Linked DNA regions of Homo sapiens: regions 1 and 3 are each linked to region 2. Evidence: promoter capture Hi-C in human tissues and cell types (Jung and others, 2019). All regions are on one chromosome and are shown on one strand. Each heading gives the region's core, a stretch centred on a gene start or on the middle of the fragment in contact. The rest is flanking DNA. Distances are from core to core; before and after follow the strand shown. Region 1 holds the start of RBM39 (RNA binding motif protein 39). Region 2 overlaps MMP24-AS1-EDEM2 (MMP24-AS1-EDEM2 readthrough). Region 3 holds the start of GSS (glutathione synthetase).

Region 1 (4,989 bases), core at 1,110-3,609, 470 kb after region 2:
AAGTGCTAACTTACAAAGCTTACAGTTTGTGACACCAGTGATAATGCATGCATACTGCTATTTTCACCACCAACTGGTGAAACAATGAAAAGACAGTTTACTTTTACTGAGATACCGAAATGAGTCAAAGACTATATTAGCCAATATAATTCCTTTGTTTTTAGTGTGAAATACTATGGTAGGGCCTAATTAAAAATAAAAACAATATGGAGAACAGTAAAACAGTCATCAAGTGACTCTAAGCTTGTATTTACTCTAAGCTTGTATTAAGCTTGTATTGACTCTACTGCCTCTTGTATTTTTTTTTTTTAATTTCTATTCAGGGATCCAAGAATTTTAGTAATTATTAACTGAGCAGCAGATTGCCACTGGACTGTTTTAAGATTTACTATCACCAGTCTTACATAGATACATAAATTTTAAAATCTCACCCATTTCTTCTTATAAGACTGTTAGAAGATTTAACTTGCCACAGACTGGTCATGCTTTGTTATTCTTGGACCCCTGCTTTTTCCCAAACCACTACATTCACCTTTTTGCTATACCAAACTGGAGGTGGTAATTCTTAGTTGAGTCATTTTACCTAGGGGACCACGGTACAGCGATAAGTCACTCAATTACTACCTTATGATTGACAGTTCACACTGGAATCAAAGGTGAATTCATGGGAGTAGAGGTGAGATATCGTTAGGCAAGTCTACAAAGAGAGATAGATGGGCATTTATTCATCACGCTGAAGTGAAACTACTGCACAATATTATTACATCAATAGCATATATTTACTTTTGTAAGTTACACGTAATGCATCTCTGATAAGATAAATCAAGAGGGCTCCGGGGAGGTTAGTTTACATTTCAGCAGTAGTTTCGTGAATAATGCTAAATTAAGAAATATATAAACCTCACCGACATGTTTTTTCTCACCTTCTTGTAAGGAGCCTCAAGCATTGCTTCAATATCAATATCGTCTGCCATTTTCTCTAAACGCCTAGGAAGAGAACAAGACAATTTCTTGAGTAAACATTTCTCTTACAATGTGAAACAAGTTTCACTCTTGTTGCCTATATCGTCTAACATTTTCTCTAAACGCCTAGGAAAAGAACAAGACGATTCCGTGAGTAAACATTTTTCTTTTTTTTTTTTTTTTTTTTTGAGACGGAGTTTCGCTCTAGTTGCCCAGGCTGAAGTGCAGTAGCGCGATCTCGGCTCACTGCAAGCTCCGCCTCCCAGGTTCCAGCGATCCTACCACCTCACCTCCCGAATAGCTGGGATCACAGGCGCCTGCCACCACGCCCGGCTAATTTTTGTATTTTTGGTAGAGACGGGGTTTCACCATGTTGATGAGGTTGGTCTCGAACTCCTAACCTCAAGTGATCCGCCTGCCTCTGCCTCCCAAACTGCTGGGATTACAGGCGTGAGCCACCGCGCCCGGCCTGGTAAACGTTTTTCAAATCGACTGAATTTTTCTTCTCAGCCGACACACTCGAAAACTTAAGAAAAACCTCCAAAAGCCCTACAATTAATGACTAAAGTGACATGCACTTTAACCAGGTTTGGCTTACGTAAGTAAATCCAAAACGCCTCTTACACGAAACACACGAAAATGAAGACTTCAATATCCAATATTTAAAACTCTGCTGTCAACTCCAAAAACAGAAACTGGGAGACCCGAACGAGAGCGCCTCTTTCCGGGCAAAAACCCGCGCTGCCATTTTAGGGGCAAAGAGAAACTCCCTCCATTGGGAGGGGTTATGAGCCAAGGCAGCGTTCAACTGGCGCCATGTTGGGAGGTCGCGGCCGGCCCAGGCCTCGAAGGAGACAGGTCACCATTCTACCGCGGCCTCTCGGGGGTCCCTACCGCCCCAAGAATCCAGACTATACCCGACTGGAAAATAAGGGCGCGGTCACTGAAACAGGGCCGATTTCTCGAAAACCACCCCCCACCCCGGTCGCTAAAGACCTCCAAAAGCGCCCCTCAGCCCAAAATGGAGCCAAACCTCGAGAAAGCTGAGATAATACGCGGGTCCGCAACGCCCCGTACCTGTTCCGGCCTTCGGGCGCCTGTGGTGCTCGTGTTCGGGAAGAGATTGCTGCTGCTGCTGCTGCTGCTGCCGCCGCCGCCGCTTCTGTTGCTACTGTTAAGCCCCTAGGCCCAGGCCGCGGAACCGCCCAGCCCGAATATCGGGTTCCAAGGACGGCTAGGCCCGAGAGAATCTAAAAAAAACAATGGAATTAGAGAAGCCCACGCGGGAGAGCAGGACGGCGGCTTCGGCAGCTCAGGATCCACCCCTGCGACAGCGTCGACAAGCTCCCTGAAATGGCGGCCGCTGCTTCCCTGTACTCACATTCACCAGCACACATACACACACACAAACACACGGGGCCTCACAGAGCCCTCAGCACGGGCTCTCGCGAGAAGCTGCCCCAAGCTCCAAATTTGAGCGGCCGAAGTATCGCGAGACCTAAGTATGGCTCCGGCGACCGTAGCCCAATCTCGCGCAATGATTGCGCCACAGATATTCCCATCCCCCATTCAGTGAGGCGCCTTTCACTCCCCCTCCGCGTAAGCACCCAAATCTCGCGAGACAGAGCGGGTCTCTAGGGCAAAGACAGTTGGTAGGCTGCCTGTCAATCTTTCAGAGAGCTCTTCGCTGAGTGGAGCTCAGCGGTCACCTCCCCCTCGTGGCGCCTCCTCACGGCCATCTGAAGATTCCTCCGGCACAGCCGATCGCCCCCGCTCCGGCCTCCCACACAGATGGCTGTCAAGGTCGCCATAAGGCAACCTAGTCCTTATGGCGATAGGATAAAACGGCCATATTCAGATTATCCGCTGAGGGTGGAGAGGAAGTGGAAAAGTGTATCAGAAGGCCAGAAGAAGAGATCTTTAGGGGTAGGGGGAGAGGGGGAGATAATAAAAATAGATTTCCCTGTCATTTGGAGCCAATGGCGCGGCCTCCACTGTCGAGCTTTGAAACAACCTTGGAAATAGTGGAGAAAAGCAAAAAAAAGGTGGAAAAAATAAACTCTTGCTTCCCTTGGCATGGGATCAGTTTTGTGCCCCGAATTTAATCAGCTCTTGTGTCAGGGTTGCTACCGTTCCTTCAAAAATGTTCCCCTTCCTGAATATTACTGGACGATTTGGTGAAAAAATAAGACACCCCCCCAACAAAAAAAAAAAGGCCCCCTTCCCCCTGGGACCTGGCTCCTCTCCCCTGAAGTCTTCTAGATGCCAGGTAATTAGAGTATGAATTAGCCATTTGTTCTTTGGTCAGTACTGTGTGAGGTTTCCTCCTAGATGCTGGGAAAAAAAACTGGAAAGAAGTCTTCAAAGCAAAAATCTTACCCTCTAATCTTAACAGTCTAATGATTGAGGGCAGAAAAGATTGGAAATGAGACGCCTTGATTAGTGTAACTAGCTGCTGCAACACTGTGTGACCTTGGACAAGCAAATTAACCTCTCAGAGGGGATCTTTCATTTCCTGATTTAAAAGAGGACGTACTTAGTAGCTAGTCTAAGCTACTTGAGACTGAGGAAGGCAGGTAATGCTCAGTACTGAATTTTTAGAGGTTAGCAGGGCATGTCTGCCCAAGTGGACCCTCAGTAAATTAATGAATGAAGGCTCAGAAGGGCTATAGTGAAGATTAAATGATATAATGTCTGTAAAACGCCTGGTAAATATTTGATCTTCAAAACAGCTAACTTCTGTTTCTGCTAAACAAAATTATTTAGAGCAAATATAGATGTTAAGTGGTTTTGCCTCTCAGGTTAACTTTACACACAGGTTAGGATTTATCTTAGAGGATTATTAATAACAGTTATTTTGTAGTTAGAATACTCCCTTAATCCTTTTTCTGAAAATTCAGATCCTCTTTTTATTTTATTTCTGAGACAGTCTCGCTCTGGAGGCTGGGCGCAGTGGCTCATGCATCTAATCCCAGCACTTTGGGAGGCCGACGCGGGTGGACCGCCTGAGGTCAGGAGTTCAAGACCTGACCAACATGGCGAAACCCTGTCTCTACTAAAAATAAAAAAAAAACTAGGTGGCAGGCGCCTGCAATTCCCAGCTACTCGGGAGGCTGAGGCAGGAGAATCACTTGAACCTGGGAGGCAGAGGTTGCAGTGAGCTGAGATCATGCCATTGCACTCCAGCCTGGGTGACAGAGATCGAGACTCCATCTCAAAAAAAAAAGAAAGAAAAAGAAAGAAAAGAAAACTGTCACAGGAAATTGAAGCATAATATGTCAGAAATAAAGCAAGCTAACCTTTGCTATCTCTTCCTGCCCCTCGGTAATTCCAGTATTATGACTAGTGCAAAATGAAAGCATGAAGATGGCACTTGGTTTTTCTTGTTTGTTTAGGAACATGACATGACAGAATTTGACCTTAACCGCTAGACTTCTTGTTTGGGAAGAGGAAGGATTTAAGCTCTAAGTCGCTTGATGATTTAAGGTCCCTTAAATAGTTTTCTGCTCAAGGACCATCAGAGGCAATATGGCAACTTAGCAGATCATCAAGAAAAGCCGTTTGGAAAAATCAAGTTTCTGAAACAAGTATTTTTTATGTTTAAAAGAAAATATCCCCAGGCATGGCGGCTCATGGCCTGTTATCCCAGCACTTTGAGAGGCCAAGGCAGGAGGATTGCTTGAGTCCAGGAGTTTGAGACCAGCCTGGACAATATAGCAAGACCCTGTCTCTACAAAAAATTTAAAATTAGCCAGACGTGGTGATGCATGTCTGTAGTTCCAACTACTCAGGAGGCTGAGATGGGAGGATAGCTTGGGCCCAGGACTTCAAGACTGCAGTCAGCTAGAATCACGTGCCACTTCACCCCAGCCTGGGCTGCAGAGCAAGACCCTGTCTCTTAACACAAAAGAAAATATCACGAACATAAGATGCTTCTCATTCACTTTACAAAACTTCACTAACTCTGGTTCATGAACTTTCTATGTAAATTAATTCCCCTTTCATCATTTTGCTTTCAAAAGATGG
Region 2 (4,632 bases), core at 1-2,500:
GGTATTGGGCGTGGTGGCTCACGCCTGTAATCCCAGCACTTTGGGAGGCCAAGGTGGGTGGATCACTTGAGGTCAGGAGTTCAAGACCAGCCTGGTCAACATGGTGAAACCCCATCTCTGCTAAAAAAAAAAAAAAAAAAAAAAAAAAATCACCTGGGTGTGGTGGTACGTGCCTGTAGTCCCAGCTACTTGGGAGGATGAGGCAGGAGAATCACTTGAACCTGGGAGGCAGAGGTTGCAGTGAGCTTAGATCACGCCACTGCACTCCAGCATGGGGGACGGAGCGAGACTCCTTCTCAAAAAAAAAAAAAAAAAAAAAAAAGTTGGAGAGCTGGCCTGGTGCTTCCTGAACATCCAGTTTGAAAAGCTCCCAAAGGTGATCCTAATATGCAGCCCAAGTGAAGAAGCACTGACCTAAGGATGAAAATGTAGAGACGGAAGAGAAGAGGACCCAAGGGCACGCCAGCCTCTAGAGTAGGGCAGATGAGGACACGCAGCCAGCAAAGGAGACTGAGAAAGAACAGCCCATGAGGCAGGAGGACAACCAAGAGAGTGTTTCCAGGAAAGTGTTTCTATGAATCTTGCTGCTCAAAATGTAGTCTTCAGACCAGCAGCATCAGCATCACCTGAGAGTGTGAAGGAATGCAAACTCTCAGGCCCCACCCCAGGCCCTCTGAGCCCTCATCTGCATTTTAGCAACATCCCCAGATGATGCATGTGCTTATTAAAGTCTGAGTCAAGTAACCATTGGATGATCTTGGCAGAGCAGTTGGAGTGGGTGACGGGTAGAAGCTGCACTGGGGTGGGAAAGAGAATAAATGAAGGGGGTGAGGAAGTGGGGCCAGTGCGTGTGAAGGGGGCAAAGAGGGTATGGCCTAAGGAAGAGCGCTGACCCTAAGGAAGGACATGATTGCTCTGTAACAGGAGAGAGAAAAGAGAAGATACCAGATTCGGGGATGGAAAGATGAGAGTCCCATTCTAATGGCTATTTTCATCCATTTTCTCAAAGACTGGGGGAGTTAAACTGGGGAGAGGGAACAGGAGGCTGAACTGGGACAGACTTGTCTCAGAGCTGCCTGGGTGATGCTGAGACTGGCAATGGGAGGCGGGAAACGGCTGCCCCCTCTCTAAGATGCAGCTCCTCTCTCCAGGACCCCCAGCCGAGCCTCTGGAGCCCACAAGGCCACTCCCTACACTCCCCGTCCGCAGGATCCACTCACCATCGGAGAGGAAACACGAGCGCCAGCCCAGGCCCCCTCGGCCGCCCCTCGGGGACCGGCCATCCACACCAGGCACCAAACCCAACATCTGTGACGGCAACTTCAACACAGTGGCCCTCTTCCGGGGCGAGATGTTTGTCTTTAAGGTAGGGCCAATGGATTGGCACCACCCAGCTGGCCCCTGACCTTTCCTCCTCCTCCCCGACATCATGGAGCTGGGGAAGGCTCCTGATTTGGGATTCGATTACAATGGGGCCTGGACAGGAGCTAGCCCAGTGGCCAGGGCATGGGGTCTCTTCCTAGTGCTGCTGGGTGAATCAACTGTTCCCAAGAGGGAGGGGGAAAGATGGGTGATCCCTCACCTCCCCTGGGGTTAATGCTGGGAGAAAGTGCTGGAAGCTGGCTTCTGGTCTGTGACCACCCTTCTTGGGACCTCAGTTTCTCCATCCGAAACCTGGGGGAGTCATTCCTCTAACAAAGAGTGTGTGAAGATCCAGTGAGTACCCGGCTCTGAAGATGGTCAACTTGGAGTAGGGGCTAGGTCAGTGGTGGCTGAGTCTGACTCCAGACCCTACCAAGGCTTGAGGGGCTGCTACTGGCAGCAGCCCAGGGTATATCTTGTCATCTGTCCTCCATCAGCCATGGACTGACAGGGTGGCAGTCTGCTTGACGTGTTGCAGGTTGGGCTCTCGGGGAGTGAACTCTGAGGTGGGGTCTGGAATGCAGGATTTCGATTAGAGAGTACTTTCAGAATCAACATTTGTGAGGGGGAGAAGGAAGCAGGACAGGGAAGAGGGAGAGGTTAAGTGGCAACAGAGGCCCATGGCAGCCTCAGCCACCCCCGCAGGGAGCTCTGGGGCTACGGTGGCCTGTCACTCAGCCTACGTTGGGTCCAAAATATCTGGAACATTATAACCCCTACCTCATTCAATCACTGGATGAGGAAGGGCATCCAGTGACTGAGGAGAGCTCTCTGAAGCAGGGAACATCCCCAAAGGGGCTGACAGTTGAAAACTGCCTGCTGGCCACACTGCTGGCCACTGGGGCAACAAGCCCTTCTCTGAAGGGGATCTGGGCAGGGTGGCTCCATCACACAGGATGGTGAAAGAGGCTGCCTCGCTCCCCTTGTGGAGTTCTCCCAGCACGCACTGAGCACTGCGCAGGAATCGGGCAGCGTGAGTCAGCCCCAGTCTGGCTTCTCACTGAGTGGCTCTAGGCAAGTCACCTGGCCTTTCTTAAGACTCCGTATATCTCAGATCAACTTAACAGAGACATGAAAGTCAAAATAAGGTCAAAAACCTGGATGTGAAAGTGCTTTGTAAAACACCTTTTAAAATACTAGCTTTTGTACCATCTTTTACAAATCATGCTTCTTCTTCTGCACTCATTCTACTTTGATCCAACTGAACCGTTCATAGGCAGGTCCGGGTTTTATCATCCCCATTTACACATAAGAAAACTGAGGCCTGGAGGCTGGGCGCAGTGGCTCACGCCTTGCAATCCCAACACTTTGGGAGGCCAAGGAGGGCGGATCATAAGGTCAGGAGATCAAGACCATCCTGGCTAACATGGTGAAACCCCATCTCTACTAAAAATATAAAAAATTAGCCGGGTGTGGTGGCGGGCGCCTGTAGTCCCAGCTACTCAGGAGGCTGAGGCAGGAGAATAGCATGAACCTGGGAGGCGGAGCTTGCAGTGAGCCGAGATTGCGCCACTGCACTCCAGCCTGGGTGACAGAGCGAGACTCCATCTAAAAAAAAAAAAAAAGAAAGAAAACTGAGGCCTGGAGGCTACAGGCCTTGCCTAGACTGCTTGTGTACCAGCCCAAGACTGAGGCACCAGTTACAAGAGGCGTTTTTACTGGACTCGGACTATTTAGCTGCCATTTACTCAACATGGACTGTGTGCCCCGTACTGGTCTGGGCATTTTGCCTAGAATCTCTCATCTGATTCTCCATTATTACCTGCACTTGCAGGTGAGGCCTAGGTCATGCAGCTATAAATGGAGGAATGTGAATTCATGCCCAGGTCTCGAGGGAATTCCCATGACTTGGCTTCCATGATCCTGGCCCTGCTGGATGGAGCCAGCCTCATGGAGGGCGCTCGGCCCAGGCTCAGTGACCACCCCAGCCTCCCACTGTCCCGAGGACCAGTCTGGCTGATGTCAGTGACGCTCCACTGCCCCCATGTGGCCACTCCAGGCCCCAACATCATCCTTTCCGGCTCCCTCACACCTCCTTTTCCACACCAGGCCTGTCTGCTGTTTGTCTCATTGTCCACCCAGCAGCAAGAGTCAGCAGGAGGCTGAATTGAAGACAGTTACAGGAGCATCCTGTCTTCCTCCCAGGGCTTTAAAAGTCAGAAGCAGCTAATGGACAGTCTCGGTGGAGGGCTGGGCTGTTGGGACCTAAGCCCCACAGCTGCAATCACTGGGTTCGGAGGCAGGGCCTGACACACCTCTCTCCCCCTCTCCCGCTTCCTCCCAGGATCGCTGGTTCTGGCGTCTGCGCAATAACCGAGTGCAGGAGGGCTACCCCATGCAGATCGAGCAGTTCTGGAAGGGCCTGCCTGCCCGCATCGACGCAGCCTATGAAAGGGCCGATGGGAGATTTGTCTTCTTCAAAGGTAATGTAGACTGTGCTGTGGGACAGTTCCCTGCCCAAGGTCTTGGGACCTCCTTTTTCCCATCTAAACTGGAAGAGGCGGGGTGGGAGGCAGATGTCCTCAGAGGGCCCCTCTAGTCTAACGGAGACACTGACCTCTGACAAATCAAGTCAGAAAGTGAGACTGAGAATCTGTATGTGCCGAGATTGGTGGGGTGACCAGCTTCGTCCACATGAAGTAGAGTGTGGGACAAGCAATTGAAGACCACCCAGTACCTCATGGGAGGCCATCGGGTCAGTTCTGTAAGAACCCAGAGGGAAGAGGTCACTCAAGCTGGGGAGGTCGGGGGAGGGTGTGGGAGGGAGCTAAGGTGCCCACCCTGTACCCAGCACTGTGCTAGGTTGTTTCATGACAGTTATCTTGACTCGGGCCAGACCTCAGATGGGTGAGATACAGATAGTGAGAAGCAAGGAAGGCATTCCAGAGGGACAACGGCTGAATAAAGGAGCAGGGCTGGGATGTGTACGGACGGCCACAGGGCTTAGAAGGCCCACCTGATGGCCACGGAGGCCCCGCCTTGGAAAGCTGTGAGAAATGGCCCAGAAAGGTCATTTGGAGGCAAATCCTGAAGAGCCCTGGCTGCCAGGCCAGAATGTGGTCTTGATCCATTAGGCCAAGGCTGGAAATTCATGGAATGTTTCCGAGCAGCAGAGAGCCAGAGGGCAGGAGGTGACAGACATGGCAGGGGCAGGGCAGCCATTTCTGAGGTGGTTCTGGAGCGCGCCACTCATGAGGCCCAAATGAGGGA
Region 3 (4,357 bases), core at 149-2,648, 310 kb before region 2:
GCCGGGCCTGGTGGCGCATGCCTGTAATCCGAGCTACTTGGGAGGCTGAGGCAGGAGAATAGCTTGAACCCAGGAGGTGGAGGTTGTAGTGAGCCGAGATCGTGCCATTGCACTCCAGCCTGGGCAACAAGAGCAAAGCTCTGTCAAAAAAAAAAAAAAAGAAAAAAAGAAAGAAAGAAAAGAAATCAGATGAAGGTGCTAAGTGGGCCCTTTGTTTTTCTCATTCTACAGCCTCAACCCTCCCTTGGCTTTATTTATGTTTTGCTGATGACATTCAAATCTACATCTTCACAGCAATACTTTCCTACCTTCAAACTAGAATATCCAATTTTTTCCTGCGAGTCTCCATACAACCAGAATAGAATTTGTTGTTGTCTCCCACAAATCTGCTTCTTCTCTGATGAACCCCACCCAGGTACCCAAGCCTTGAGTACTTGTTTCCTACATCTCACTCTCCCCAAATCCTATGGATTTTGCTGCCTAAGTATATAGTACTTTGAATTCCTTTATTTATCTCCATTTCCAGAGTTTGTAGCCTAGCCCCGGCCACTGTCATCTCTTCCCTGGGCGTGAAACAGATTCAGAGTCAGGTGTCTTCAGTGACCAGGATATGTTGGCCTCTGTCCCCCTTCCAGGACTTGGCACGTGCTGTCTTCTCTTTGGAACTCTCGCCACCACTCCTGATCTGGGCTCGCGATTTCGTTCCGGAAGCTGTCCCTGTTCTCCGCCCCGGGCTTCTACATTCTACAGCCCATCACTTTTCCCTGTACCGTAGGAACAGTGTTTGTCTTGATCACTTCTCTACCTAGTAATTAGCCGCGCTTAGTACTGTATTCATTCATCACATGAATGAATGAAGAATGAATGACAGACGGGTCAGATCACCGAAAGCCTCAAAACGCCCACAAGGAAATCGGTCGCACTTTATCGCCAGGACTTAGGCCAGTGCCTGGAAAGGCCCCGAGGCAACGACACGGTCGGCTGCCCAGGCTGGCCCCACTTCACGGGCCCGCTCGCTTCCACCCTGGACAAAGTTTGGCCCTAATCGCTCCCCGTTGTAGCTCTAACTGGCTCCAGTCTCACTGGCCTACATGCCCCGACACCGGCCCGATCTAAAGGCAGAAGATCCGGAAAGTCTGGGATCAGTGCGCGCCAGCCCAACCCCCTCACTAGACACTAGTTGCCCCGCTCCTACGAAGGGTTTCAGCCACAAGGTCTCCCGGCCTCCGGAATTCCAATCTCTTGCCAGACCCCTCCCTCACATCGTTCCTCCCGAGGAAACGTGACCCATGCCGGCCGCCGTGGCCGCCCCAACCTACTAGTTCGCCTTTCCTCCGCGAACGGTTCTCCCGGCCCTCGCGCCGCTACCCAGGCTCAGGGGGCGGGGCCTCGATGCGACCCAGTGCGCTTGCGCTGACCGCCCCGGCTAGGCTTAAAGAGCAGGCGGGGCAGAGACCCATACCTTTGGCGCTGAGTCGAGGCCAGGAAGGGGCGGTCGATGAGAGGGCGGCCTTAGCATTAGGAGTGCGTCGGCTGCACCCTGGCGGATGGACCTTGGGAAGGAGGGGAGGGGACCATCGGGGTCGGCGGGGAGCTACGGGTATGCATAGCTCATAGAGCGTCAGAGCTGACGACGACTAGTGGAAGATGGGGAAACTAATGCTCAGAGCGGGACAGTCACTACCTCAGGGGCACACAATTGATAAGGGTGGGGGTGGCCGTGGTAATGGAGGCCCCAAGGAGGGGCAGGGGCCCATAGTACGTCAGGGGCTGAGCCTGTATTAGAACCCAGGCTTGTTTCCCAGCCCAGCCAAGTCCCAGAAAAATCCCCCTGATTTTATCTATTTTTTTTTAACCTGGGATACCAGCAGGGAAAGCATTAGAGGCAAAAGGAAAGGATTTTCATTTTTCCAGGAATGCTGAAGTCAGGACTGTTTGAGGGGAGCCCTGTGTTTCTCAGACTCTCTTGTACCGTTTACATCAGGATCTGGGGCAGTTTTTAAAAATATGCGGATTCATGATTCCTACCCCCCACCTCATTGCTTGGCAGCCCCCAGGTGCCTTCCCTGTTTCTTCCTTCTGGGTTGTGATAGGCTTGTCTGCAGTCCGAAGCACCTGATACGAATTTTAGTTAAATGGAATGTATCAGTCCAGCTTCTAGGGAATTAACCATAAATAAGACACAGCCACTGCTTTCAGTCTGATAAGATAGGCAATAAACTGCCTTTCTGAAGGAATCAGGGATGGTTTTTGGGGTCTTGAAGGATGGATAGGAAGGTATAGGTAGTGAAGGAGGTAGGGGTAGAGGTGAGAGGCTGGGATGGGGACAGTGTTCCAAATTGCAGGAACAAAAGCAGCAAAGGCTGGCTGGGTGCAGTGGCTCAGACCTGTAATCCCAGCACTTTGAGAGGCCGAGGCAGGTGGATTACTTGAGCTCAGGAGTTGGAGACCAGGCTGGGCAACATGGCGAAACCCCGTCTCTACTAGAAATACAAGAATTAGCCGGGTGTGTTGGCCCGTGCCTGTAATCCCAGCTACTCGGGAGGCTGCGGCGTGAGAATTCTTGAGCCCCGGAGACGGAGGCTGCTGTGAGCTGAGATCACGCTGCAGCACTCCTGCCTGGGTGACAGCGTGAGACCCTGTCCTAAAAACAAAACAAACGAGCAGCGAAGGCATATAATTCTGAGGGTTGCTCGGCTTGTTTTACAGACACTGAGGAGTTTGGTGTGGATAATGAGGAAGGGCCTGAGGGTTGCAACAGGACTTAGGCGCTTAGGCTTGGAGAGGTAGCCTCAGACGCCAGTTCCACTGAGCAACAGGAGCTAAGGGCTTTAAGCAGGGGAAGGACATGGTTAGTTTTGTGTGTTAGGCACTGGTTACAGCGTGACAAATGGTTTGGAAGTGGGGAGATGGGCCAGAGAAAGCAGAGAGAGTTAAGATGTGAGATCATGAGGCTGTAGCCAGTGCAGCAGCTGTGGAGATGGAGCGAAGCGAACAGATCAAAGAAATTTAGGAGTGAGAACTCCTAGTGATCGTAAATCAGTGGCCCAACCCAGGGACCAAGATCCTTTTGACTCTTTTTTTTTTTTTTTTTTTTTGAGACGGAGTTTTCGTTGTTGTTGCCCAGGCTGGAGTGCAGTGGCACGATCTCAGCTCACTGCAACCTCCACTTCCCAGGTTCAAGCAATTCTCCTGCCTCAGCCTCCCAAGTAGCTGGGATTACAGGCGTCCACCACCACACCCGGCTAATTTTTGTATTTTTGGTAGAGACAGGGTTTCACCATGTTGGCCAGATTGGTCTGAAACTCTTGAGCTCAGGTGATCCACCCGCCCCAGCCTCCCAGAGTGCTAGGATTACAGGCGTTAGCCACTGCGCCCGGCCCCTTTTGACTCTTTAAATAAACCATGTACATTATCTGACTACAGGACAGGCTGAGTCCTCCAGTCTCCCGTGTGTGGTCACGGGATGGGGGGAGATGGTGGCAGATAGGTGTCTGGTTATTCCCAGAACAATGTTTCCTGATGTCCTTTCCTCGTTGGCTTTTGTACCTGAGGGGATAAGCAGCTGTTAACTAGAATAGGCCCCAGGTGGCAGGAAGAGGCTCCTGGGTCAACCAGGAACAAAAGAAGCTATTTCTAGTGCAGCATGAAATTAAAAATCAAAAGCATGACCCAGGGTTCTCTGTGCAGGTTCCCCTCTTCCAAGACGGGTGCCAAGTGATGAGTATCAGGTGTCTATGGTGAGATTTGGGGAGGATCCCAGACCTTAACAGCCCTTTGGTTGAAACCTCTCACAATGTGGCAGGTAAGATGTCTTTATTCCCATTTTGTAGATGTGGCAGCTGAGCCTCAGAAGTTACGTGACTTGTTCAAGGTGACCCAGTTTGTGGTAGGACTGGGAGTGAAGGACTCTTGACTAAGAATCTTTCCAGGGAGCGTTTGCCCTTTCTGCACTCTCTGCCTGGGTGCTTTCCTCCAAAATCCTGGCATGACTGGCTCCTTTGGTCATTCAGATGTTTCATCCCTGGAGGCTGCCCCACCCTATAAGTCTATCACGTTATCCTTTTCTTTTTTTTGAGATGGAGTCTCACTCTGTTGCCCAGGCTGGAGTGCAGTGGTGCGATCTTGGCTCACTGCAACCTCTGTCTCCTGGGTTCAAACAATTCTCCTGCCTCAGTCTCCTGAGTAGCTGGGATTACAGGCACGTGCCACCATGCCCGGCTAATTTTTGTATTTTTAGGAGAGACAGGGTTTCACCATGTTGATCAGGCTGGTCTCAAACTCCTGACCTTGTGATCCGTCCGCCTCTGCCTCTCAAAGTGCTGGGATTACAGGCGTGAGCCACCGTGCCCGGCCT

Evidence for each region. The method cuts DNA at HindIII sites, captures the fragments that hold promoters and counts their contacts. A contact is called where the count stands out against the background at its distance.
Region 1: a contact is called between the fragment with the promoter of RBM39 here and a fragment that was not itself captured in region 2, in 2 of the 25 tissues and cell types used here (dorsolateral prefrontal cortex and spleen).
Region 3: the fragment with the promoter of GSS here is called in contact with a fragment that was not itself captured in region 2 in 2 of the 25 tissues and cell types used here (dorsolateral prefrontal cortex and lymphoblastoid cells).

Annotation. Positions count from the first base shown.
Region 1 is chr20:35,739,901-35,744,889 of GRCh38, forward strand. RBM39 (RNA binding motif protein 39) reads right to left here and starts at 2,360. Exons shown (of 17, transcript NM_184234.3): 1 at 2,041-2,360; 2 at 924-987. The coding sequence starts at 974. RefSeq lists a silencer at 1,740-1,839 and enhancers at 2,100-2,249, 2,263-2,948, 2,310-2,529, 2,700-2,799. The HindIII fragment of the contact is 31,582 bases long and covers 1-4,989 here.
Region 2 is chr20:35,266,054-35,270,685 of GRCh38, forward strand. All of the region lies in intron 2 of MMP24-AS1-EDEM2 (MMP24-AS1-EDEM2 readthrough), which reads right to left. It overlaps MMP24 (matrix metallopeptidase 24), which reads left to right. Exons shown (of 9, transcript NM_006690.4): 6 at 1,152-1,366; 7 at 3,707-3,845. Among named protein-coding and RNA genes, the nearest start is that of MMP24-AS1-EDEM2, 9.8 kb to the right of the region's middle. The HindIII fragment of the contact is 9,806 bases long and covers 1-4,632 here.
Region 3 is chr20:34,954,408-34,958,764 of GRCh38, forward strand. It overlaps GSS (glutathione synthetase), which reads right to left and starts at 1,399. Exons shown (of 13, transcript NM_000178.4): 1 at 1,320-1,399. MYH7B (myosin heavy chain 7B) reads left to right here and starts at 1,461. Exons shown (of 45, transcript NM_020884.7): 1 at 1,461-1,600; 2 at 3,691-3,805. RefSeq lists enhancers at 1,207-1,306, 1,547-1,726. The HindIII fragment of the contact is 12,827 bases long and covers 1-4,357 here.